Regions from separate parts of the Homo sapiens genome. Here all the other regions are linked to region 3. Evidence: promoter capture Hi-C in 16 types of primary human blood cells and fetal thymus (Javierre and others, 2016). All regions are on one chromosome and are shown on one strand. The core of a region is centred on a gene start or on the middle of the fragment in contact, and the rest is flanking DNA. Distances in the headings are between cores, read along the strand shown.

Region 1 (2,942 bases), core at 26-2,525, 1.9 Mb before region 3:
AAATCTTTTTCCAAATCCATTGAGCTAAAATCTAGGCAGCAAAATTTCTTCCATTTTCACAATTTCCTCCTCTTCCACCCCCCTACACATATGAGATACAGTGAAGTGACAGAATACAGGTAACCAAACAGACTCAAACATTCCATCTAGAAAATGGAATTACCTGAATGTGATTAAATTGTACAAAGTCTTAAATGTTACAATGAGTGTTCACCAGCCTCCTGAAATATATCAGGGCATAGTTCATAAATACAATGGTGGCCTTCTTCTTTTATGGTGGCCTACAAAAAAGAACATAGAAAAATGAATCACCTCTAAATATTTTGAAAACTGATTTGAAATCACCCGAAGAGTGAGCAAAAAGGAAGTAAGTACAAGGCCAAAAACAGCATAAAGAATTGAAAAGGGATGAAATTGTAGGAGTGAGGCAAGGAACTTCAGTTACAAACCAAAATACAGGGACAGTTGGAACAAATTGATCCTCTTTTCATTTAGAGAGGGATAGAGAAGTGTAGCAACCTAGTTGGAAGCTCACCATTCTGAGTTCCTGAGCAATGCCAGTCACCAGTGCTTTGGGAGGGCCAAAATTCTGTCTACAATCTGATCTTGGGTGTGTTAGGAATTCACAATTTATCCACAGAGGCTGGAGTGCAAGATTTCAACCTGTGCAAGTGTGTGAGAATGTGTGTGTGTGCACACGTATGTATACACACGTATGTGTGCATGTATATGTGCGTGTGTGTGGATATGATAGATTTTATGCATGTAACTTCTTACTCTAGAGTGACTCAGAGCATCATTTTCTGTATCAATCTTCTTTCTTACGTGTCTAATATATTCATTTTGGAATTAGCATTTGAAAAATATTTTATATACCAGGGATGTACTTTTTTGTAACCAGATTCATCAAATTCTGTTCCCAAATTTCCTATGAGAAAGCTTATAGGGGTCATGGAGGAATGAGACAAAGACTGAGCTGTGCTGATTCCCAGACCTTTGTGAACACTGTAAATTCAGACCAGTTTAATTATCAGCCAATTGGTTATTCTATCATTGCAATGAAGCATTTCTTTCTTATTCACTGAGCTAATACAACATTTCCCCCTTGTTGCTGTCTATGGTCCAGCCACAAATAACTAGATGGCACTATCACCCTAATTTACTTATAGGCAGAGTGATTTTTGCCAAAGAAGGTATTGCAAAAATTTCTGCTTTTGCTCCAAAATCTACCCTAATGATTTACAGATGATCTCTCATTTTGAGTTAGTTAAAATTGTTACCCATCTGAGTTTACTCGTGGCTTCAGGTTAAATCAAAGTTCCTTGAAAAAAGTGAAAACATTTTTAAAATTCCCATATTTCTAAATTTTGTTAAATGCCAACATGAGTTACTGAGGCCCCACTGTAAACAGCCAACATCTGGGATAACGTCAGGTAATCTGGAAAGGTCAAAACCCCCGAAATTTAATAAGAGGAATCTATACATTGGTATGTGTTCTCCTGCATTAGAACTCACTTTGACTTGACTTGTTAGCACGGGACGTTAAACATCTAGGGGAGGATAGAGAGGACAATGGAAGCCTTTCTCAATATAGATTGAAATCTTCCACAAGAAAGCTTGGCATGGGCTGACATTTGACTGACTTATATTTTTTAAGAACCAAAACAGAAGGAATCACTGCACCTCCATTTCACTACTTTTGCCACGGATGATGAAGATGAGGAAGAGGATGAAGAGGGTGATAGTGAAGGTGTAAGCTGTTACCTAAATGTATGCTCCATTAACTGTCAATTCACGACTTCTGTCTGTTGTGTTATGATTAATTGCCTGGCTTGGGTTAGCAGTAGGCTATCTCAAATGACTCCTCATGAATTCCAGGATTCCTTCTTATGAAATGTGATAAAATACCTTTAGCTAAGTTTCCTTCTTTTCCTTCAGAAAATACATGAAATCATAGATTGCAGCTTACCCACACACAAATAAAACTGGGGATAGAATCTGCTGATCAAAATCACACTAGAAACCTAGGTTGTATTACTCCAGAAAGCCCATGACCCCATTACTTACTTTCTCACTTGGAAAGAATTCCTGTGAAAGATGATCGGGAGGTATTTTCACAAATGCTGCATTTGATACACAATGATGGAATGATCTTCATTTAGCAACAGGAAAGGGACTGGAGAAAACTGGAAATTCATACTTAGCATTTTCTTCCTGGCCCAACAACAAAAACATCAATGTCTGTGTGTTGGATCTATACATAGGATCAACACCCTGGGCACGTCTGACTGCCTGTTACATTTATAATTTGCTTTACTTTTAAAACATTTTCTCCGTAGCAACATAGTATTCTGTGAGGTTGGCTTTCATGCGATTTCCATTTTGGAGCTGCCGGACTCTGGCTCCGAGAGTTTGGGGTGCCTGTGAACCACCCAGCTGGTAACGGTGATGTCACGCTTAGAGGCAGGACTAATGCTTAGTGCTTTTCCTCCCCCACAGGACCCCACTCATTGTCCTCTAATACTACAGGTATCTCATTATTGCCTGAAATTGCATCAATCCTTCCCTACACATGGGGGGAATGTCCAGGACAAAATGTAATATTGAAAAACATAAGACATGGGCCTGAGATTCATGAGCTAGAAGAGCACTTAAGCTTTTGCACTCTGCCTCCCTTCTAGGCTTTGTATGTTTTCAAGAGAATTCTCAGGAAGCATTTCTTTATGATTATTCAGTTAATGTTGATCTCTCAATCAAAAGGTAAATGGTACTCCCTGCAAGATCACATTTATGATTATAGCAAGAAAATGTGTGAGGAAATGTGCAATTTGAATTTACCTTTAGCCTAAAATACGTAGAATGTATGAAGTCTGAATTTCAAGATACATGGGGTATAGCACTACAAACTACAATCCACTGGACATGACCTCCAATGAACTTTG
Region 2 (3,077 bases), core at 161-2,660, 1.7 Mb before region 3:
CTTGACACGGTGCTCGCAAACATGTGTAATTGTTGGAAGTGTAATGATGATTATTTGCATATTTAATGTTCAAACAGTACTGAAGAAGCAACCTAGACTAAACCTTTTAGGGGAAGATTTGAATATGTTGGGCATCAGCCTGAGGAGTCCCAGGAAGGAGGAGGCAGCCAATGGAGAGCAAGTGCGGGAATAATTGGCTTAAAGTTCCACTGCACCACCCTGCCTTGGTGCCTTTATTCGTGTACACAATAGCTCTCCCTGGGCCCATATGGGGTAGAAGTTCACCAGCATCAGAAAGGTGCTTTCTCTTGGCTTTAGTTTAAACATTAGCTGCAAGACATCCTATTCCAGCCTGGTTTTACATTAACCAACTGTGAACCCAAGAACAGTATCCAGGAAATAGGGATGTGGGTAGACGTAGGAGGGAAGATAGGCATGGAATTCATTCCACTTTTTACCCACAGGCAAGTGGAAATTGTCCACTCATCTCTGGATCCCCCCAAAAAAAAACATTCTTAAGGAAATTATCTAGCTGAACTATTAAAATGGCATTATATTGAAATTTGTAAAAAGAACATTTGATTTTCCTAGAAAGTAAATGACTTCTAAGATTCCTTTCCAGTTTTTACTTGGTTGGAACCTTGTTCGATTAAATGTGCTTTTTCTCACAATATTCTTTAGAAATAGAAAGTACTGGGTAATTTGAATGAAATTAGAAAGATCTCTATTCCCAATTCCCCACCTTCCTCAAATGTAGACCCCAATTCACCCCTATGGTGCCCAGGTGTGAAGTTTAATGCTTTATCTTTCTGCTTCCAGGCTGTGACCACTGAAGTTTGCAAGTTCACCTTGGATTCATGGGGGCCTTTCCCCAAAGTAGCATCCCTTGTAGGAAACATTGCGGGAAATCCAGAACTCAGAAAGTGCCTATGCAAATGACATCCCGTTGCACCTAATTTCTTACTAGTGACAGAGCCACTGGCCCTGGGCACCTGGCGGCCTGCCTGCCTTTCCAGCCTGTGCTAACCAGACTCTCACAGCAGGCTGAGCTGTGCTTACCCACACATGCGAACGCATCTTGAACAACTTGAAGCACGGAGATGGGGCGGCATGTTCCAAATCAGCAGGAAAGGAAATTTCAGATGGTGGCAATCATCGCAGGGAAACGCACCTCACTGAAATCAATAGAATAATTTTTGATAATGTAGCCACTTGATCTGGTAATTGGGCCTTTCACCTGTAGTGAACGGCTTCACTGGAGACTTTCTTGAGCTATTAGATGCCTCTTACTTGGAGGCTATCCTGTTTTTATCTTTCAAAATATGTGGAGTAATTAGCTTTTGAGTTGAGTGCTTTCGCCTCTTCCTCACTCCCCTCACTCCCTTGCATTTCCACCCGCCCACCCCCAGCTTGCTCTTTTCCAGGCCTGCCCCCGCCCTGCCAGGAGCCACTTGGTATTGAGCCACTGCTCATCACAGAATTGTACAGTCGTTTGAGGGGCAGCACAATAAACCTCACTCCATTATCATCTTGTAAATTGATTTTTTTTTTAAATCTGGAGGGTGAGTAGGACTGCGCATCTGCATTCCCGACCCTTGTCTTCCTAGCCTTGGCTTGTAGCAGGGCTGAAGTACGATTGACAATGCTTCTAATCAGTGCTGTCTGGGGGCCAGGGAGTGATTTACCTGCAGTGGAGGAGGGTTGGCAATGTTACCTTGCATATCGTCCGATGACTAATTCTTTAGAAGTGAGACAATACATGTAGTATACTTCCGAGCATCACATTGGTTAACAGCTTTCTCATAAAATAGTGTTGGGAATATCAAGCCAAGGAATTACTGATAGTGAACAATTCAGGCATCCTTCCAAATCCATTCTTCTTAATTCTCCCAACAACCTGATGAGATATGTACTATTATTATAACTAAGTCCCCATTTTATGGATCAGGAAATCAGGGCATAGAGAAAATAAACAACCACCCTGACATCTCCAAGTTCACACAGGATGAGACTGGAATTCAAACCAAGGAATCTCAACCAGAGTCTGTGCCCTAGCCACTGCACTACCCTGCCTCTTAGGGTTGTAAGCTATACTTCCTGTCTCGATGTTACCTATGGGTACGATGTATGAATGCGAAACCAGTGTCATTTCCACAGGTCGCTACATGGCACTGCTTGCAAGACTCCGTCTGCCATTTTGTGTCACTTTAGAGACTCCAGAAGTGGAGACGATTACCACTGACAACCCCACAACAGTTCATTGCTCTCCCACCACATGGAATGCAGAAAGTTAAAGGATTTATTTTTCTAATACAACATTAAACAACCCTTGGGATACAAAGTTGAATTTTATTGCTTGTTAAATTATTTGAAGAGCAAAAGTATTTAAAAAGCATAGGACAATAATTAGCCGTATTTCTTTAGGGGTTTGTTGGTTTGACCTTAGCCTTTTAATCTGTCAAAGTATGCTAATCAGCCTGACAGACAGAAAGATCAAATACAGAGGCTGAGGCACTAGTAGGGAAAAGAGGAGAAGAGAGTAGATAAATGAAGGACCAACAGGACATGAAGGGGACCGTGGCCAATGGTCACTGCAGGTCTACCCTTCCAGAGTGACCCCAAAAGGCTCAGGGCTAGAGAGAGCCCCTAGAACAAAGCAAGTCACTGGTTTTGTTCCCAGTCCAGCAAAGTGAGCAAGCTCATCTGTGTTTGTTCCAGAAATCTTCTTTACCATGAGCTGAGCATGAAATGAATTGATTGTTTAAAAGGTTGTGGATGGGATGGAGATTATATCAAATCTTCTAATTTAAGGTTTAGATGTATGGCATCTACAGTTCCAGCTGAATGCCTTACATCATTCTATAACTCTAGTAGAAACGTTTACTGCTCACCAAATATCCATGTACTCCCCCATTTTTCAAGTCTCTCTGAAGCTCAATGGGCTATGCAGTTAGGTGAGTGGAAATGACAAGTGTCATTTTTGAGTCAAATCATTCAATATCAGGTGTGTGGCCTGACAGCTTTCTCTTTTCCTATTGTGGGGAGGAATGCAGGGCCAGGACTTCAGATGGTTCAGC
Region 3 (2,993 bases), core at 254-2,753:
TTTATTGAATGTCCGAGTTGGGTTAGTTCATTGGAAATCCCCGAGGAGGGCTCAATTTGCCCTTGTTTTCGTTGCCACTTTCTCTTTTTTCTTGGTTCGCTGAGGTTCCTCTGTGCAGCGTTTCCGCTTGGCCGCGTCCCCCCACCCCACCCCACCCCACCCCCGCTTCTCTCGCCTACCGGGTGCACTCCCCCTCCCATCCCCCTTAACTCTTTCAGCTGGGTTAGAGCTGAGAAAGCATTTGTCGCCGCCAGCCCCATCCACCACGCAAATCCATCTGAGACAGAAAGGAAAGAAAAAAAAGCACCACCATGCCTAAGAATAGAGAGCGAGCAAACCCCCCCACCGCTAATCACACACACACACACACACACACACACACACACACACGAGGAAGCGGTGGAGCAGAGAAGGGCGCGGCTAGCCGATCCCGGTTCTTTCGCCCGGCTCCTGCTGCCACAGGGAATTCCTAAAGCCATTGGGGTCGAATACACTTACGATGAATCTATGGGGGAAGGTCGGACTGATTGCTTTTCAAATACATCGCACGGCTCCGCTGACCGGCACCCTCCAAACTCACAAGGGCACGCACGCTACTTGCACGAATCCCAGAGGAGGGAGGAGGGAGGAAGGGAGGGAGAGCGAAGGAGGGAGAGAGGGGGTGGAGGAGCCAGGGAGCGGCGGCAGCGAGCGGTCCGTCTCGCACGCGCGGGCACCGCGCTGGTCCTGGGCTGCAGGTTTCCCAGATGATGGCATCCGAGAACTTAAACAAAGGGGGCTGCCGCCGGCGCGCAACGGCTGCGGAAAGTTGCGGTGGCGGATTTCCAAGGAGCGTGGCCACGACCAGAGCTCTTGGCGATGCGAGCCCCCGCTTCCCACCCCCGCCGATCAGAGAAGGGGGCCGGCTGGTGAAGGGAAGAGGAAACTTTGAAACCACTGGGGACACATCTGTCTATAGGTATTAGCTTGAATGGTACATCCGTGCCGCGCGCTTTACAAATCTCTGGCGGGGCGGGGGTAAGGGGGTGAGCAACCCGACGCGTACTAGGTGGGGTGGGCAGGTTGCTATTTTTCATGTTTCCCCCTTCGTTTTCCTTCTGATTCTCTTCCCCCCTCTCGTCCCTCCCTCCCTTTTATCTCCCCTTTCTTCCCCCCGCCCAGACCTATTGCGAACGCCCAGAGCCGCCGAGGGAACGCCAACGTCTGGGCCGGACACTAAGAGTTAAGATGTGGCGGAGGGGGCGGCGGGGGAGGGGCGGGGAGGGGAAAGTGGTGAGGGGGAGGGAGGCTGGAGGACGACAGATTTCCAGCTTCTACGACGCTCTGCCTAAATTAAAAAGCAACCAATCGGAACGGCCGGAAGGGGGGCCTCGCGTCCTGAGCCAGTCATTCCGAGCCTGCCAATCACCCAGCGGGTAGCCAATCAGCGGGGGCCCTGGTGCTCGACTTCCTTGTATTTGGGAAAGTGTGGTGGTGGGTGCGCGCTCGCGGCGGAGGGTAAACATTCGACAGTCCCCGCTCTGAGAGGGAGGGACAGAGAGCGAACTGTCAGATCGGAGCGAGAGCGGGCGCCCGAGAGAGGGAGAGAGAGAGAGGGAGGGAGAGGAAAAGTGAGAGAGGGAAAGAGAGCGCGAACGAGGGCGCAGAGCGAGCTCCTGCTGCAACTCTGCTCCAGCACGGCCAGCGCCAGCGCCCGCCGTCGGTGCACTCTACGAGCCGTGCAGCGTGCCCACTGGAGTTGTTGTGTATCAAGGATCGATCCCCTATATGCACACACACACCTCCACCTCCACCAATGCACTCTTCTTCCTCCTCCTTCTCCAGACAACTGCTGGGAAAAAAATAAAACACCAACCCCAACCGTCAGCAACAAGGTAACAGAGCGATTCGACATCATTTTTTTTCCTGTTCAATTTTTTCCTTGTTATATTTGTTTCCTAATTTCTGCCCAAAAGGAAAGATGTCGCATCAGACTGTGACTGTTGCGAGGAGAATGAAAAAGGACTCTTGTTTCAGAGGCAACCAAGAGCTCCGGCAATAGCAACTTCAGAGAAATGCACCATCGCAAGAAGTTTTCCTAGGACAGAACAAAACTTGAAACGAGAGGACCAGAGGGGGAGAGCAGGAGCCAGCCTCCCCTCTCCGCACTCGCGAGCAGCCAGCAGCACCACGCCTTCAAGGACGAAAAAGTTTTACTACTCTAAGGGAAAACGAGTGAAATGTGTTCCTGAGGAGGAGAGGAGAGGAGAGGAGAGAGCGGACAAGAGAAGGAGCGGGCCGGTTGCTGGTCATCCGTAATTTGGCTAAGGAAGAAAGGAGCAGCTTCTTTCTTTGTTATCTCCCGTGAAACCTTCACTTAGCAGGTGGACGGAGCCCCGCGACCGGGCAGAGTCCGGGCTCGCCCGAGGACAGGAGGAGGAGCGGGAGCCCGCGCGTCCCGGGAGAGCGCCCCGAGTGCAGGTCCCCGCCCCGCCCGGCGAGCCCCGCTGGAGCGAGCCCAGCGCGCCGGGGCTGGGGGGCGGCCACGACCCCCCCTGAAGGGGGTGGCCACGGAGCGCACCCCGAGAAGCGAGCCCCCCTCCCCAGAGCGCTGCTCCTGCGGCTGCTGCTGCTGCTGGTGACCAAGGCCGGCCGGCGACCCCCGCGCCCTGCCGAGCGGCCTTGCAGCTGCAGCCGGGGGCCGCGGCGGCGGCGGCGGCGGCGGGGGCGGAGGCGGCGGCGGAGGAGGAGGCGGCGAAGGCGGCGGGGCCGGCGGGGGCCCGGGGCGGGGGCGGGGAAGGAGGGGGGGAGGAGGCGGGAGGCGGGGGGCGCGGCGGCGGCGGCGGCGGCGGCGGCCGCGGCTGCTGCTGCGGCGGCGGCGGCGGTGGTGGCGGCGGTGGGGTGGCGGGAGCGGAGCGGCATGGCCACGGCGGCTTCTAACCCCTACCTGCCGGGGAACAGCCTGCTCGCGGCCGGCTCTATTGTGCACTCGGACGCGGCAGGGGCTGGCGGCG
Region 4 (2,703 bases), core at 50-2,549, 1.7 Mb before region 3:
AAAGTGAATTTCCTAAACATCAGATGCTCTGAAAGTGCTGCCTTATGTTGGTTCACACCATGCCTAGAGCCGTCTTCAGTCCTGTTTTGTGCTGTTACACATGAGGCACCTTTTGCAGATTGGAATGCAACAAAGACCGGAAGAGCCCCTTGAATTCCCCTAGTCCTCTCTGAAGAGTAGAGACTCCTATAGAGTCAATCGGATTGATTTTAACCTTTTCAAAAACCCATGTGGATGCTATATTTCTCTTTAAAGGAGGATAATTATTTAATTATCTTCATGAATGCCCATGACACTTTGCACATCTGTGAATGGCCACTCTTTCCTCTCTAAATCTGGAGATGAGTTTAATGCCTTTTCAAACCATTAAATGTATTGGTTTTGACATTAGATAAATGCAATAACATAGCACATGTTCAGAGGGAAATTAATTATACAAGTATTTATTGAAAACTGATCATTGGCTAAAATCTATGGGATGGATGAAACACAATGAAAAAGAAGGAGGAGGAAGTAATCATGTAGATAGGGTTGCAGCAGATGGCCAGGCATGGACTGGGGAGATGAGAGCAGAGAGGCAGGAGGCAGCCTGGGTGCTAAGCCCTTTTCCTGCTCACAACCCTGTGTACATGACCTAGGCTCTACTGGTTGCCTCATTTGTGGGTATAGAAACTGGTGTGGAGAGAAATGGAGAGCTTGCTGCAAGTTGTGCTAGTCAATTTACTGTCTCGCCCCAGGGCTGTTACACCTAAGCTAGACAGTGTGTAGGCTCTGCTTGTAGATGATCTTGTGAGGTATACTATAGAATCAGGATGTTAACTTTAGGCAAAAAGGTGTGAGTTTTAAACAAAAGAATGTGACATCTAGATAATTCTAATGGCACTGTGAGCTGCACAGTGGGGTACTGGTGCAGGCATGGGAGTGGGGAAACGGATGAAGGCCCATGAAATCATTGCTCTGAAGGAAGAATCTATGTAACCCTCTTGAGAGATTCAACATACAAATGAACACTTGTCAGATCATGTATACAAATAGAACTCTGACCCATAATCTGCAGCAATCTGCCCAGGAAACAAACCTATTATCTACAACAACCAGCCCAGGAACCAGCCTGCTATCCTTAAGTCAGAAGTTCAGGCAGTCAGACCGCTATCTCTAGCAATAATCCTCAAAGCAGAACAGTAACCCCTGGAACAACCAGCTCCAAATAATTAAAAGCTTCCTAATTTCCCACCCATCCTCATCCCCCACCCACTTCCAAGTTAGGACCAGCTAGAGAAACCCAAACATGCCCCCCTAAGCATCACATAGGAGTCCAGGCTTCTAGTTAGCCTCCTCCAGCTCCCCCACACCAACAGCCTCTTCCCTGCTTTCTACCACGAAGCTTTCCCAGCCCTCTGGCTGCCTTTGGGTCTCTGTCAAACTCAAGTGCTGGTGGTCAGCTCCCTTGCTATGACAATCTCTGGATAAATAGCATTTGCTTGATCTCATTTGGATAGTCTTCCTTTATTTCCACATTTGTCTCCTGAAATACACAAGTCTATTAATGGAGATTGTCTATCCAACATTTAAAATGAGTAAACTAAAGCTCAGAGAAGCAAAGTTAACCTTGACCTCCAGTGCAAGGTCATGGAGCAGGTCAGAGGGAGAATTTAAATCTAAGTCAGACTGATACCCAAACCTATGCATTTAGTCACTCCGATGTCACTATCTCTTCATTTTTAGAATCGAAGAAAGGAGCTTCAGAGTTAGAAATTTGACTTTGAGAATTACTTCTGCAATGTTAACATTAGCTAACACTGTATCCTAGCCCATGGCTGGCATCTGATAATATTTTTATAAGTAAAATGACATTTGCATGGCTAATGGCCTCTTTTTAGAATGATGTGGAAGGTGAAGATCCCTTGTGTCCACAGTTGGTTTGTATGAGAAAACCTTGTCAGCCCTTCCCCTCTGCCATTCCTAGCTTTAGAAAACTTGAGGGATCTGTCCACCTAGCTGGTTGTGGATTTTTTAAATACTAAAATTGGAATATGATGATTGTATCTTGTGTCTGCTGATGAATTTGTGAGATTCAAATGACCTCATATATGTGAAAGCACTTTGTCAACTGTAAACTGCAGTATTAATCTAAGATATACTCAAAATAGTTACTAGAACTAATGTTTGACTTTGAAAGATTGTAAAAGAGGCATCAAATCTTAAAAGTGTTTTCAAGTACCTACAGCTCAATCATCCAATCTGCAAACAGCCACATACATCCCATATGGAATGACACAACATCAGTCTCATGGTCCCAAGTGGAATGTGAACTGCCAAGAAAGCTGAGTAAGGGCCTGTCTCTGCTACATACAATAGTGAGGGCTTTGGTGTCTGGTCTTTCTGAGCAGTGTTTTCCTTATCTCCTAGGTTGACAGGATCATCTCTGTCCAGCCTTCCTGGCGGGTCCTCTAGTGCATTTCCAAAGAGCTAATTCATAAGGAAGTGTTCTGTTAACTGTGAATGCCTACATAAATGCAAAGTACCACAATGTTGAATTTGAAAAGTGCTATTTAAGTGCCACTTATTATTACAGTGGTTATTGTTATAGTTGAAGAGTATAATGGATTTCAGCAACTAATGGTATGGATATATAATCTTTTACCACCACAAAACCTCCCTCGATGTTTTACTTTAATAACTATACTCCCTTTCATCTGTAGC

The links. The method cuts DNA at HindIII sites, captures the fragments that hold promoters and counts their contacts. A CHiCAGO score of 5 or more calls a contact.
Region 1: a contact is called between a fragment that was not itself captured here and the fragment with the promoter of POU3F3 in region 3, in 1 of 17 cell types (endothelial precursors). The highest score is 5.9, in endothelial precursors.
Region 2: a fragment that was not itself captured here is called in contact with the fragment with the promoter of POU3F3 in region 3 in 1 of 17 cell types (endothelial precursors); the score reaches 13.0 in endothelial precursors.
Region 4: a contact is called between a fragment that was not itself captured here and the fragment with the promoter of POU3F3 in region 3, in 1 of 17 cell types (endothelial precursors). The highest score is 7.0, in endothelial precursors.

What each region holds. Positions count from the first base shown.
Region 1 is chr2:102,968,774-102,971,715 of GRCh38, forward strand. LINC01935 (long intergenic non-protein coding RNA 1935) reads right to left here. Exons shown (of 4, transcript NR_135530.1): 2 at 2,068-2,214; 3 at 164-281. Among named protein-coding and RNA genes, the nearest start is that of LINC01935, 14 kb to the right of the region's middle. The HindIII fragment of the contact is 677 bases long and covers 938-1,614 here.
Region 2 is chr2:103,166,779-103,169,855 of GRCh38, forward strand. No RefSeq gene overlaps it. Among named protein-coding and RNA genes, the nearest start is that of LINC01935, 180 kb to the left of the region's middle. RefSeq lists a silencer at 2,283-2,386. The HindIII fragment of the contact is 4,318 bases long and covers 1-3,077 here.
Region 3 is chr2:104,852,612-104,855,604 of GRCh38, forward strand. POU3F3 (POU class 3 homeobox 3) reads left to right here and starts at 1,504. Exons shown (of 1, transcript NM_006236.3): 1 at 1,504-2,993. The coding sequence starts at 2,900. It also overlaps a transcript of PANTR1 not described here. RefSeq lists an enhancer at 1,108-1,697. The HindIII fragment of the contact is 8,766 bases long and covers 1-2,993 here.
Region 4 is chr2:103,140,787-103,143,489 of GRCh38, forward strand. No RefSeq gene overlaps it. Among named protein-coding and RNA genes, the nearest start is that of LINC01935, 160 kb to the left of the region's middle. The HindIII fragment of the contact is 166 bases long and covers 1,217-1,382 here.